2 separate regions of the Homo sapiens genome follow, and region 2 is linked to region 1. Evidence: promoter capture Hi-C in 16 types of primary human blood cells and fetal thymus (Javierre and others, 2016). All regions are on one chromosome and are shown on one strand. The core of a region is centred on a gene start or on the middle of the fragment in contact, and the rest is flanking DNA. Distances in the headings are between cores, read along the strand shown. Region 1 holds the start of OR5B2 (olfactory receptor family 5 subfamily B member 2). Region 2 holds the start of OR9I1 (olfactory receptor family 9 subfamily I member 1).

Region 1 (6,745 bases), core at 2,740-5,239:
TTGTATGTCGGTTATATAGAAATGCTACTGAATATTTTATGTTGATTATATAACCCTAAACTTTACTTAATTCATTTATCGGATCTAAGAATTATTTGGAGGAGTCTGTGAGATTTTTTACATACAAATCATATCATCAGCAAACAGAGATAATTTGACTTTCTCTTTTCTAGTTTGAATGCATTTAATATTTATTCTTGCATGATTGCTCTGGCTATGACTTCCAGGGTTATGTTGAATTGGAGTGATGAAAATGGTCATCCTTGTTTTGTTCCAATTCTTAGGGAGAATGAGTTCAAGTTTTCTCCATTCAGTATGCTGTTGGCTATGTGTTTTTCATGTATAGCTTTTATTATTTCGAGGTATGTTCCTTCTATGTCTGATTTTTTGAAAGTTTTTATCATAAAAGGATGCTGAATTTTATCAAATGCCTTTTCTGGATTTATTTATAGGATCATAGGGTTTTTGTTTTTAAATTCTGCTTATGTAATTAATCACATCTATTGATTTGTGTATGTTGAACCATCCTTGCATCCCTGAATAAAACCTACTCGATTGTGGTATATTATCTTCTTGATATGCTGTTATACATATATCTCAATATATGTGCAAAATCCTTACATACAAAATCCTTAACAAAATGCTAGCAAATGATGTATACTTTTGAGGATTTTTGCATCTATGTTTATCAGGGATTGGTCTGTAGTCTTCCATTTTTATATCCTTGCCAGCTTTGGTATCAGACTCATACTAGCTTTGTAGAATGAGTTAGGGAAGATTCTCTCCTCTCTGATTTCTCAGAAGAGTTTCAAAAGATTGCTATTATTTCTTTTTACCTTTGGTGGAATTCGGTTGTGAATTTATCTGGTCCTGAGCTTTTTTGTTGGTGTTGTTGGGAAGTTTTATATTACTGATTTAATCACTCATTATTGCTCTGTTCAAGATTTTTCTCTCCCATTCAATCTTAGGAGGTTATTTGTTTCCAGGAATTTATTCATGTTCTCTACGTTTCTAGTTTGTGAGTGCAAAGTTGTTCATGGCAGCCTCTGATGATCTGTGGTATTAGCTGTGGTTTTAGCTGTAATGTATTCTTTTTTATTTTGGATTATGTTTATTTGGATCTCTTCTCCTGTTTTTCTTAGGTAGTTTAGCTAGTGGTTTGTCTATTTTATTTGTTTTTGACCTGATTTCATTTAGTTCTACCCTGATCTCTGTTATTTGTTTTATTCTGGTAGCTTTGGATTTTGTTTGTTCTTGTTTTACTAGTTCCATGAGGTACAATGTTATGTTGCTAATTTGTGATCTTTCTATTTTTTGATGTAGGCATTTAATACTATAAACTTCTCTCTTATCACTGCTTTTGCTGTTTTCAATATGTTTTGGTATGTTTTGTGTTTCCATTTTTATTTATTCCAAAAATTTTTAATTTATGACTTAATTTAGTAACAAACCTAAATATTGTTTAGGAATATATTGTTTACTTTCCATGTATTTGTATAGTTTCCAGAGTTCCTCTTGGTATTGATTTCTAGTTGTATTTGGCTATGCTCTGAGAAGACACTTGGTATAATTTCAACTTTTAAAAAGTTGAATACTATATTGAGACTTGTTTTGTGACATATCTTGGAGAATGTACCATGTGCCCATGAAAAAACTACATTTTACTTTTGTTAGTTACACTGATCTGTAAATGTTTGTGATGTCCATTTGGTCAAAAATTTAAGTCCAATGTTTCTTTGTTAATTTTATGTTTTGATAACCTGTCTAGTGCTATCAGTGGGGTAAGTCCCCCATTTTTATTGCATTTCTGTATGTTTCTTTCTTTATGTCTAGTAATTTTTTTATGACTCTGGGTGCTGTTCCATTTTTAGGTGCACATATATTCAGAATTTTTATATGTTCTTGCTGATTTGATCTCTTTATCATTATATAATGGCCTTATTTGTATTTTTTATCATGGTTTATTTTAAGTCTGTTTTACCTGATATAAGTGTAACTACTACTACCCACTTTTGGTTTTCATCTGTGTGGAATATCTTTTCCACCTGTTTACCTTCAGTCTATAACTGTCTACCAACCAGTAAGGTGAGTTTCTTTTAAGTAGCATGTAGTTGCTTCATGTTTTTATCCATGTCATCAATGTATATCTTTTAAGTGGAAAATTTTAATTCATTTATTGTTAAGGTTAATATTGTCATGTGAGCTTTTGTTTCTGACATAATGTAGATTGTAATCTAGCTGTTTTGTAGATTCTTCATTTCTTTTTTTCCTTTGTCTTTGTGCTTTAGTGGAGTTTTGTCATGTAGTCATTGGATTTCCTTTTTTTACTTTTTGTAATTTTGTGTTTATATGATGGTGAATATTGACATTTTGTATCCACATTTAGAACTCCTGCAGAATTTCTTATAGGGCCAGTCTAGTGGTAATGAATTCCCTCAGCATTTGATTGTCTGAGAAGAACTTTATTTCTCCTCCATTTATGAAGCTTATTCTGAATAGGATATAAAATTGGTGGTTGACAGGGTTTTTTTTTTCCTTTAAGTACTTTAAAAATAGAATCTCTATTTTTTCTGGCTTGTAAGGTTTCTGCTTTTAAAGTCCACTATTATTCTAATGGTGTTTTCTTTATAGATGACTAGACACTTTTCTCATGCTGATTTTAGGATTTTTCTTTCATGTTGACTTTAGACAATCTGATGACTATATGTCATGTTGAGGTCCTTTTTACAATGTATTTTCCTGTAGTTTGTTGGGCTTATTGTATCTGGATGTGTAAATCTCTTCCCAAACTCGGGAAACTTGTTGTCAATTATTTCCTTAAATAGGGTTTCTGAACTTTTTGCTTTTTCTTCTCCCTTGGAAATACTTATACTTCATATGTTTGGTTGCTTTATGTAGTCCCATACTTCTTAAAGGCTTTGTTTGTTCTTCTTTATTCTCCTTTCTTTATTTTTGTCTGATTGAATTAATTCAAAAGACCTGTCTTCAAATTTTGAGATTCTCTTCTCTGCTCGTTCTAGTCTATTCTTAAGGCTTTCAACTGTTCTTCATAATTCTTTCAGTGAAATTTTCATTTCCAGAAGTTGTTTGTTTCTTTAAGATCTCTACCTTCTTGGTAAATTTCTAGCTCATATCAGGAATTGATTTTCTGATGTCTTTGCATTGGTATTCAGTTTTCTCTTATGTCTTATAGAACTTCTTTAAAATCAGTATTTTGAATTCTTTATCTGACATTTTGAAGATTTCTTATTGGTTCAAATCCATTGCTAGAGAATTACTGTGCTCCTTTGGAGGTGTTATAGCACTTTGTTTTTCATACTTCCAGTATTATTATCCTGATTTCTTTGCATCTGGAGAATTAGTCACTTCTATTATTGAATTTACTTTCATTGGGGTGTGACTTATTTTTCTTGGGAATGTGACTATAATGTATGCTGAGTAGGGTTATTTGGCTTTGTTTCTGGCTGTCTAAACTGGTGTAGACTCTGTATGATTTTCTTGTTTGTAAATATCCTTAGTGTACTGGTTTGGGTGTCCCAGATAATGATTTGGGCTATGGAACACACAGTGGTCCTGGTTCCATGCTTTGTATCCAAGGCAAGAGGGCAAAGCTGGGCAGTGTTGGGTTGTGCAAGTCTGCACTTGAACCCCACGATGGCATGTACAAGTGCTGGCCCTTACAAGGTTCAGAGAGCAATCCTCAGACCTCTGAAGAAACGCTCCAGCAATAAGCAGAGCAACTGCTGCTATGCCAATGACCCCATGAGGGAAAGAGTACATCCTAGGCTCCATGGCCTATCAAGGGGTAGTAAGACCCAGTTTGCTCTCATTAAACCCAGCAGGGCTCTTTCCCACAGCTGGACACTAGCAGTGCGTTGGGACAGTTAGCCAACTCAAATGCACTTTGCCTTTAGAGTGTGAAAATGCCTCAGGCTGCAAAACTTGCTACCGTGGTCAAAACCACTCCTCTCAGACTCAAACCCTCCTGGTCTTGTCCTGCAAGGTGGATTCCCAATTCCATTGTCCACAGCTGAAGCCCATGCTATTCTTGCCTCTCCATTCTGGCCATGTGGATTCCTCCTCCAATCAAGGTAAGATCACAAATCTCTGGCTAACAACTCTACAAACCAGTGACTGACACCAATGCTAGCTGGCAGGTTCCTGTGCAACCCACTATGAGTTAGCATCAGGAATGACCTCCTTCCATTGGTCCTTAAGTCTGAGAGTGCATGTGGGGTACTTCCCAGTGCTCTTCCTTCTCACAGTCCCTTGACTGTTCCCCAAGTCTGATCCAGGTTTTGGGAAACTCAAAAAGTTCCCGATAGCCTAGGTTGCCTGGCTTCCTGGTGGGTATGTGTATTGTGGAGCACTCCCCCTCTCACATATGGAGGGACTGATTCACAGTTTTCCATTTGGGCTGCTGTCTGTCTTGTTTTCAGCAGTATACAAAGTTTTCTTTCACTTTTATATTGAACAATCATGTTTCTACTTGGATGCAAATTCACAGTGTGAATCTCTACACACCACTTGCTATTTCCAAGTGAGCAAGGATTCTGGCAAAGCATCCATTCTGCTATCTCAGAAAAAAAATACTCATCTCTGTTTTATTAATGAGAGAACTGAAGTGCGTAAGTGTTTATACAACCTATAATCTCAATATGAACTTTGTGAAGTTATGCTGCCATCGGCCAACGAAACTTACATAACACTTTAGCCTAGTTTCCATTATGCCACTCATGATTCTGTCTGATTTCTGCCAGGAAAGTTAATGATGAATCTTTTCTGAAGATGTTCACATTACCAAGAAGAAATAACCCTGAGTAAAGTAAATACACTGGTGTTCTTCCTAAGAAAATGGAACCAGGCTTTCATATGCAGTTTAATTATTGCTTCTCTAGATGATTGGAGTGAGAGACTGTGGTTATTCTCATGGGTAACTTGTCCCCTGAGAACTTTATGTACGTTCAAATTCCTCAATTATTGTTAGTTCCCAGTCATTGGTCTCTAACATCCCAACATGACTCTATTTAACATCATGTTAGAGGTTCCACCCTGTGTGTCACCTTTTGGTGATCATTTATTGATCTCAGTGTAAAAGGTTGTCCATTGTACTAAGTGGCCTTATTTCACACTGGTATATTACTCTGAGTCTGCAACAATGGCCAGGGATAAGACCCCCAGCTAAAAATGATGTTCATTGCAGATACGATGATCCCTTCTTACAGCTCTTTAGGACTTTACAGAGTGCATTCAGAGACTTCTATTTTTCCTCACAGCAGCAGCCCTGTGTGACAAGTTGGAGAATATTTTCTAATCTCCACCTAGTCATTACTTTTTCCTTAAATCTCCCTCCCTCTAGAGAACTTCAATATTTGTGACTAGACATTAAATAATAACTTCTTAAATAGGAGCTTTTCTTTCTTCTTTGAGTAGGACTTGCAATTTGAAGATACCAACTGAAAGTGTGTCATCTTCCTTGAAGAGCAAGGTAAGTTTCTAGCTCTGTTCTACGGTCTGTTTAGGTTGTAGTAATAGAATATGTGTTATATAAAAGTTCAAGGGCAAACATTTTCCCATTGAGTAATCAGAGTTCAGTTTCCCAGCTTTTAATATTTTCATGCTATCACGCTATTTAGCCACAGTCCAGGTGTTACAACAATCTCCATTAATTGGGAAAATGGTGATTTTATTCAAATAATAGAAGATGGTATTATTCTCATCATTTAAAATTCATATGCTTAGAGGGCAACAGACATTGGTGCCTATCGAAGGGTGGAGGATAGGAGGAGGGAGAGGATCAGAAAAAAAATAACTAATGGGTCCCAGGCTAATACCTGAGTGATGAAATAATCTGTATAACAAACCCCCATGATGCAAATTTACCTATGTAACAAGCCTGTACATGTATCCCTGAACTTAAAATAAAAGCAAAAAAACAAAAAACAAAACCCTTATACACACAAAAAATCCATGTGCTTAGAAGAACATTTAGAAAATGATGGGCACTCTAAATACTTGTTGAGGCAATGAGAGAATGTATCTAAATGAATAAATGAATAAATAAATAAGTCAGCAAATGATCAGTGAGCACATTATAAAATACATGGTTCTGTGTTACTGAAGCACAGTCTCATGCCTAACTTTGCACAGGCTATTCAGAGGCTCTTGATTGAAGGCTTTAGATTTTTTAAAATAAGGAGTCCACACGATTTACATTGTGACCCATAATGTATGACTGCATGCATGTGTACACACGCACATACACACACAGCAAAATCAAAACTTACATGGAACCCTATTTTTCACCTACAATGCACCTTTACTTTCTATTTTTTTATGCTAAATGAGCTAATGTATGCAAAATACATAAAAGAGAATCTGCACATAGTGAGTGATTTATGTGTTAAAGGTCATTCCTAACAATAGCAGTTATATTTAATTTAGTTTATTGATGCTAGTGTTTTTTTATTCTGTCTTTCCTTGCCATAGAGAACTTGGAGCTTTTTTTGACCACTACCTGAGACATATTTTTTTTCTAATGTTATTTATGCATTATTTCATGACCGAATTTCCAATTTTAGACCTAGTATTCAGGATTGACTATCTCTTTTTTTCCAGGCACAAGGTAAACTTCTATGTTCCATATATACATTTAGTAAAAGAGGGAATTTGTGCAAAAGCAGTGGGACGGCTATAGATACTATATTATTTCAGAACAGAAGTAGATGCTTTAAATATTTTTTTT
Region 2 (6,745 bases), core at 1,286-3,785, 300 kb after region 1:
CTATACAAACATACAAAACCATGAATACTTCAGAGTTAGTGTCAAAAATTTTTTTCAATTTAAATGGTAGAAAGCCAAATAAAATTGACTTAAAAATTAAAAAATGAAATTTGTTGATGTAACCAAAAACACTTTATCTGGATAGCTCCAGGCAAGACTTGCTTCAGAAATTCAAATATCCTCAGGCTGCAGTCTTGGACATTGGGGTTTTCCAAAAGTCCAAACTTCATTAGACCTCAGTCTTCCTTTCTTCCTCTCTTAACTTCTCTCTGGGCTATTTTCACTCATTCAGTGGCATCAGAAGCCCCAGATATAAACACTCAAAATTCTATCAGGAAAAAAGAGCATCTTTAAGTATCCCAGTTAACAGATCAGTACACCCACCTGCAGCTGCTATGAGTATTGGCTGCTAAGAGCTCACAGCTCTCCTTCTCTGGAGAATTGCCATTAGCTAAGGGATCCACTTTTCCCAGAATGCCTGGGAAGTCACACCACTTGGAGGCAGCCCACAGTCAATGGATGGTTGGTGTGGGCTGCAAAAAGCCAAATCCCTTGTCTGGAGGCAGAACTAGGCCCATGGCATAATTCACATTCCAGAGTTACTCTAAGAATCAGGCCAAAGCTAGCCTCCAGCTGAAACTACATCCTACATCTTTGCTTAGCTATTTCCTGTTTCATTCACTCCCTTACAGGTTTCTCCTTCAAGCACTCCCTCAGTGAGGCACTTGCCCAAAATTCTGTCCCGGGTCTTTTTTTAAGGAAGCTAACCTAAGATGCATCTCTTCCCAAAAGTCCAAACAGAAGTTCTGGAGTGAGGCCGGGCACGGTGGCTCATGCCTGTAATCCCAGCACTTCTGGAGGCCGAGGCGGGCAGATCACTCGAGGTCAGGAATTCAAGACCAGCCTGGCCAACATGGTGAAACTCCGTCTCTACTAAAACTACAAAAATAAGCTGGGCGTGGTGGCACATGCCTGTAGTCCTAGCTACTAGGGAGGCAGAGGTGAGAGAATCGCTTGAACCCGGGAAGTGGAGTTGCAGTGAGCCAAGATCATGCCATTGCACTCCAGCCTGGGCGACAGAGCAAGACTCTGGTGAAATGCTTAACAATAACAATAACAATATTAAAGATAACAATAGTAATGATTATGTTATACATCAAAGCACTCTAGATCCCCCAATGTGTCAAAAGGAAGGAAGGTAATATCTACTGTATAGTCACCCCATTCTACAAGTTCCCCAGGGGATGTTGAATGGAATATTCTTATTACTGGCATATTCCTTCACCCTGTCCCAATTACCACTCTACCTTCTATACCATTCCAGGAAGTATTAGAATACACTACATATACTCTTACCACACAGTTATTTCAATAGATATTTAATTATAGGAAATAATAAATATTGTCCAAAAATGTATTGGAAGGTAGAATTTCTTGTGCTAACTGCCAGGAGTCCTGATCTGTGGCTGCCACCCTTCTTTGTAATATATTCTTGTATCAACTGGCATCTGGCATCTGCAATTATGAAAACCACCCTAGTTCGCCTGAATGCTTGCTAATTTTCAAAGGTTTTTTATCCCAGCCATGTTACTTAGAAGCAAACAGAGCACATGGCCTCTTTGAGATTTCTTCTGCTGGAAAAGTTCTGATCCTACAATAAAAAGCTGATGAAAGCTTATAGGACACAGAGAGGTTCTACTGAATCAGGAACCAAGTTATTAGTAGGAAGAAAGATAGGTTCTCCAGGAACCCACAATCCAGCAGAGGAGATGAGACTATTCACTAAAGAATAACTATGAACACTGTAAGACAAGTGGAGTTCAGTGCCAAATTATGTGGTTCTAACAAAGAGATCATGGGTTTCAGAGACGAGGGAAGAGACAAGAGCTGGAGTGGTTAGAGAGTTGACCATGGAAACCCTGGAAATAGATCTTTAAGGAAGGTGAGCTGACAAGCTCCTCAGTATAGACATGAATGAAGTATGTTTAGACCACACCAGACTCATACCTTCCTGAGCCAATAATCACTCTTCCTTGAAATTCTGAGCAGACAATGCAGCCAGGTTTCAGCCCCTGATATGGGACTTGACATCAGGACTAAGGATGAGTGTGTTGTAAAGAGAACTTTACCAGGAGTCCTAAGATCTGAGTTCCAGTCCTGATATTACCACTGAGTAACTTTGGGAATGGTGAGCCAGTGGCAAAGAAAAACCAAGTTCATTCCCAGCAGAGTCTGCAGTTGAGCTTTGAGACAAACAAGGCTTACGAGTTTTCATGAGCTCCCATAAGATTTGTTTTTATTCTCTCAGAAGTGTGCAGAAGCTGAGATAATGAGCCTCTGCTGAAGTGTGGTCTCCCTGACCGGGCCGGCTATTCTCTGGAGTCCCAGGGGCTGTCCCAGGTCCTGATTCATGATTCAAGGAAAACCACTGAGATCACTGCATCCCTCCCATAAAACTATCCCCAAAGGCAATTTAAATATCCCACTGGTTTGCTTAGTAAGAAGAAAACCTAAAGTCAGTCAGCTACATACGTCTATTTGAGCAATCTTAGCTGCTTTCTACAAAATGCTTAAACAACCTTAGCTTAGCTTGACTACAAGGCCAAGATAAATCCAACTGAATTATTCCACCAGGTAATTAAGACTTAATTATTACCTTGGCTCTGAAGTAAGGTCCACACAAACTAGAGAAGGTGTAACTGGGCAGAGAATCTTGCCTTTGTCATCAGAAGTTGTCATCTGATAGGACCATGACCAGACTGGGATTTCAGCTCTTATGTGAAATATACAAGTAAGACTGGATCAGCTTTTTTTTGGGGGGGGGGCGGTGGGTAAGGGGGGAATCTACAGCTTTAATCTCTTTGGGCTTTTGTGTCACTAAGTAGATTTCAGAAAATATAAATAGTTTCATGTGGGAGGCGTGGTACTAGACTGCAGAGCTTAGACAAGATATTTTCCTGTAAATGACTCTACTTTCTGTAATTATGCTGGAGTAGAATTAGTCATATGTACTAGGACTCTGGCTTTGGAATAAGACAGACCTGGATTAGACTCCAGGCTTTTTCATTGACTAGTCATGTGACCTTGGACAAGGTACTTAACTATTCCGAGTCCTAGTCTCTTCCAGGACAAAATAATACCTTTTTTGTAGGATCATTGTATGAATTATATGAACTAATGTGTCTACAATGCATAGTATTGTGATCAGCGCAGAGAAGATGTTCGATAAATGGTTGCCAGGATTAGGAAAAGCAGCACAGCGTGTTGATTCAACACTCCAACTCTGGGGTCAGAGAACCAGGGTTAGAATTTAAACATATTTTCTTTCTAGCTGTGAAACCTCAAGCAAAACATCTAATGTCTCTAAACCTTCATTTCCTCATCTGTAAAATAAAATATTTCTCTCTCATTATGTTATTGTCAAGTTGAAAGGAAATAAAAGCCTTTAAAGTGCTTAGCATCTACCTGACTTGGAGCAAGAGCTCAGCAAATGTTAACAACAATATTTCAAGACACTGATTTCAGTAAGGTGAGAAACATTAACTTTGTTGAGCTCCTTCACCCTCCCCAAGGGACTCAATCTTTGGAGGAAAATGAAGAAGAGTATGGAGAACATCCCAAGTTAAAGTAAGTACAAGTGTTAGGGACCATCTCTTCTGTAAAGGGTTCCTCCTGAATTAGAGGAGTCTTTTTCCCTATCCCCTCCAGAGGTCACATATTCTTTTATGTCACATATTATAATTTAAATATATCACAAGTAATAATATCAACCTATAAATGTTCCTAGGCTTTCTTAAAAGAGTCACTGGCCATAAACCGTTGCTTTCCCTTTCATAAACTGTCCTGGGTTCGGGGAGTTGGTTGTTTCTCTCTACTCTTGGCCTCACCCAAGCTGATGGTACCCCAATCTCCTTCTTAAACAAGATCACACAAAACTGGGTGTCACCAGTCTGCTCCTAAAATTTTTCCCTCTGGGAAATATTTTGGAAATTGCCTGTCTGAAAAATAAGCAAGCTCTACCATATTAGATAAACATCCATTCTATTTCAAGAATCGTTACTATATTCTCATTTTATTATTGAAAAAATTGAGGTTCCAATTGGTTGAGCAGTTTTCCAAGGGTATATCAAGAGGGATATGGTCCAACTAAGTCTCTCTCAAGTTATAAAGAAAGAAAAAGAAGAAAAAACATGGACCACAAAGAACTCCAACATCAATCTTTATACTTGATGCCCACAGAAGTTGAGTATTTGCCTAATGGTTTTAGAGAGGCGCTTTGATTTTAAAGGTTTGGGGCTTGGATCTGCATAAAGGGTCTTTCTCATGCCCTAAAAAGAGAACATGATAAGATGGAAAGAATACAGAATTTGGAATTAGAATGTCCTAGGTTCAAATGTCTGTTCTGTTCCTTCCTAGGTGTATAATAAGTTGGACAACCTTCTTAACTTCTCTGAACTCTGCTTTGTTCATCCATAAAATAGTCATAGCTATACCCAACTTGGAGGGCTTCAGGAAGGACTAGAGCTAATGTATGAAACAGGCCTTGCATGCATGTGCCACAAACTCAGTGTGATTGCATCTGCACCCCAACAATCTGCCACCTAATCTCTGGTCAGGAGCCTTGAACAATTGTGTCTCTAATCAGAGAGACCCCCAGGAATTAGCCATGAGATAGATGTAATATGACCTACAACAATTTCAGAAGTAGATACTGAGAAAGGTGTTGAAATTAACCAAGTTATCTCATGATTTGAAGGTAAAAAAGCTCTGATTAACTGCAGGGAGATTTCTTTGTTTCCATAGATTATAAAGATATAGGAAAATGGAGGGAGACAACAAAACAAATTTATAGCTGAAAGCAGAGGATTTGCCATCAACTAACTCTTCTGCTTCTACTTTCACTTGGAGGTAATTTTAGACAAATTAATCTCCCAAAGATTTAAATTCCTCATTGGTAAAAATAAGGTCATAATATCTGCTTAAAGGGCTGCTTTCAGAATTAAATAATATATGCAAAGCACTCACAGTCTCTAGTAGAATTGATAAGTAAAATATGTTATAAGCATACCAAGCAAGACCATAACAAAATCCGAAAAAAAAAACAAAATTTACCACAATTACATAAACAAATCACAAAAATACGGTGTATGCTAAAAAATGAGATTTATGTCACAATATCATGTACACAAATTTTAAAACACACCACAGCCACTATATTTTAATATACATATATTTCTAAATAAATATGAAAAGAATAAACATAGAAGGATATGTATTTTGAATACACTGGAGTGCACACTTAAGAGGAACAGGGGAAGGAGTAAGAATGAGGCAGGACTAACAAAAATAATAAAATAAAATAAAATGAAGAAGAGCCTTGCCCTGACCAATGATGATGGTTTATCAGGAACTGAGGAGTAAAGGCCATTCAATTTTCTACCTAAGGCCCCAAAATATTATGTTTAAGTAACTATAAATCACTTGAAATAGTGCCTGCATTGCTTTATATACTCAGTATTTAGTAGATACAGAGCCTAAATACCTAGACATATAAATCATGGATTGTGAGAAACAAAAGATTCAGTGGTCATATAACCTAGCTCTGCCATTTCATAGAATAGAAAGCGAAGTCCATGTTGAAGGGAAAATAAACGTTTGAAGTTTACTCAGCTAGTGAGTGCCTGTCATAGAGGTGACAACCACAGAGCTTGAACCATACCATGAAGGCCTTCCAAAGAAGCTGACTCGTCCCCAGACCCTGCTGCTGGAGCAAGGTGGATGGAATAGCCCTGGGACATGTTTGACGTGATCTGTCAATGTCTCTCTCCCACTAGGACCCTGATTAGAGCTGAAGTAAGCTCCAGACCCAAGAACAGCTACCATGAGCCCTTTCATGAAAGTGTGTGCTGCTTGTCTCTCTCTACCCATGTAGTGAATAAAGCAGTCACAATGATTCTAGAGATGGGGCCTCATCACAAGTTCAAAACCTCTTCCTGGCAGGTCCCAGTGGAATTAGACCTTAGGTGAAAGAGAAGTAAAAAAAGGGATCCCATGGAAGCCAGAGGACCTGCCTGTTATCCCCAAGTCTGCAAATAGCTAATTATTTGACTTTTGGACAAGTCATTAACCTCTGTCAGTTGTCTCAATGCCAAAATAATGACAATATCAATCAAGTCAACTTTACAGGGGTGTGGAGGCAATCACAGACATTTATGGATATAAAATGTATGAAAGAAGGTAGAAAGAGGTATTATGATGAGTTTTTACTACTATGGATTTTATCAAAAATAGCAATCCCCATGTTGCCACAGCAAAGAAAATTCCCAGTTGTGCTACAAGGAAAAGAGTTTCTTAACAATCTAATTTCTATATTCATGGCTTCATCAAACATAGTTCTAGATTCAAGGACTCTGAATTGGCAGATTCCAACCTGAGGAAGTTGGGGGTGTAAGATTAAGGAGGCCAGGCAAATGGTTCAAGGGGAGCAGTGTAGGATAATGGAATCTGGAGACTTGGTTGTGGATCCTGGCTCCTCTACATGTGGGTCAACGGATGGTTTCATTTCTCCAATCTCCACTTCTCAAACACAAACAAACTAATGTCACCTGTCCAGTAGGATTGTTGCCAGGTTTCTGGCAGGTCCTGGGAGAGTAGAGATGACTTTGGGAAAAAAAAGAGATGGGAACCTAGGCTTCCATGCACACTCTCCCAAGGAAGGCTTTAGGCATTTTAATGAGTATCCTGG

What was found. Contacts are between HindIII fragments. The CHiCAGO score rates a contact against its expected background, and 5 or more counts as called.
Region 2: a contact is called between the fragment with the promoter of OR9I1 here and the fragment with the promoter of OR5B2 in region 1, in 11 of 17 cell types (M0 macrophages, naive CD8 T cells, M1 macrophages and 8 more). The highest score is 7.1, in M0 macrophages.

Annotation. Positions count from the first base shown.
Region 1 is chr11:58,425,365-58,432,109 of GRCh38, reverse strand. It overlaps OR5B2 (olfactory receptor family 5 subfamily B member 2), which reads left to right and starts at 3,989. Exons shown (of 3, transcript NM_001005566.3): 1 at 3,989-4,091; 2 at 5,434-5,488. The HindIII fragment of the contact is 6,968 bases long and covers 2,488-6,745 here.
Region 2 is chr11:58,121,320-58,128,064 of GRCh38, reverse strand. OR9I1 (olfactory receptor family 9 subfamily I member 1) reads left to right here and starts at 2,535. Exons shown (of 3, transcript NM_001005211.2): 1 at 2,535-2,791; 2 at 3,426-3,627. The region is part of intron 2 of OR9Q1 (olfactory receptor family 9 subfamily Q member 1); the gene reads right to left. The HindIII fragment of the contact is 7,504 bases long and covers 1,677-6,745 here.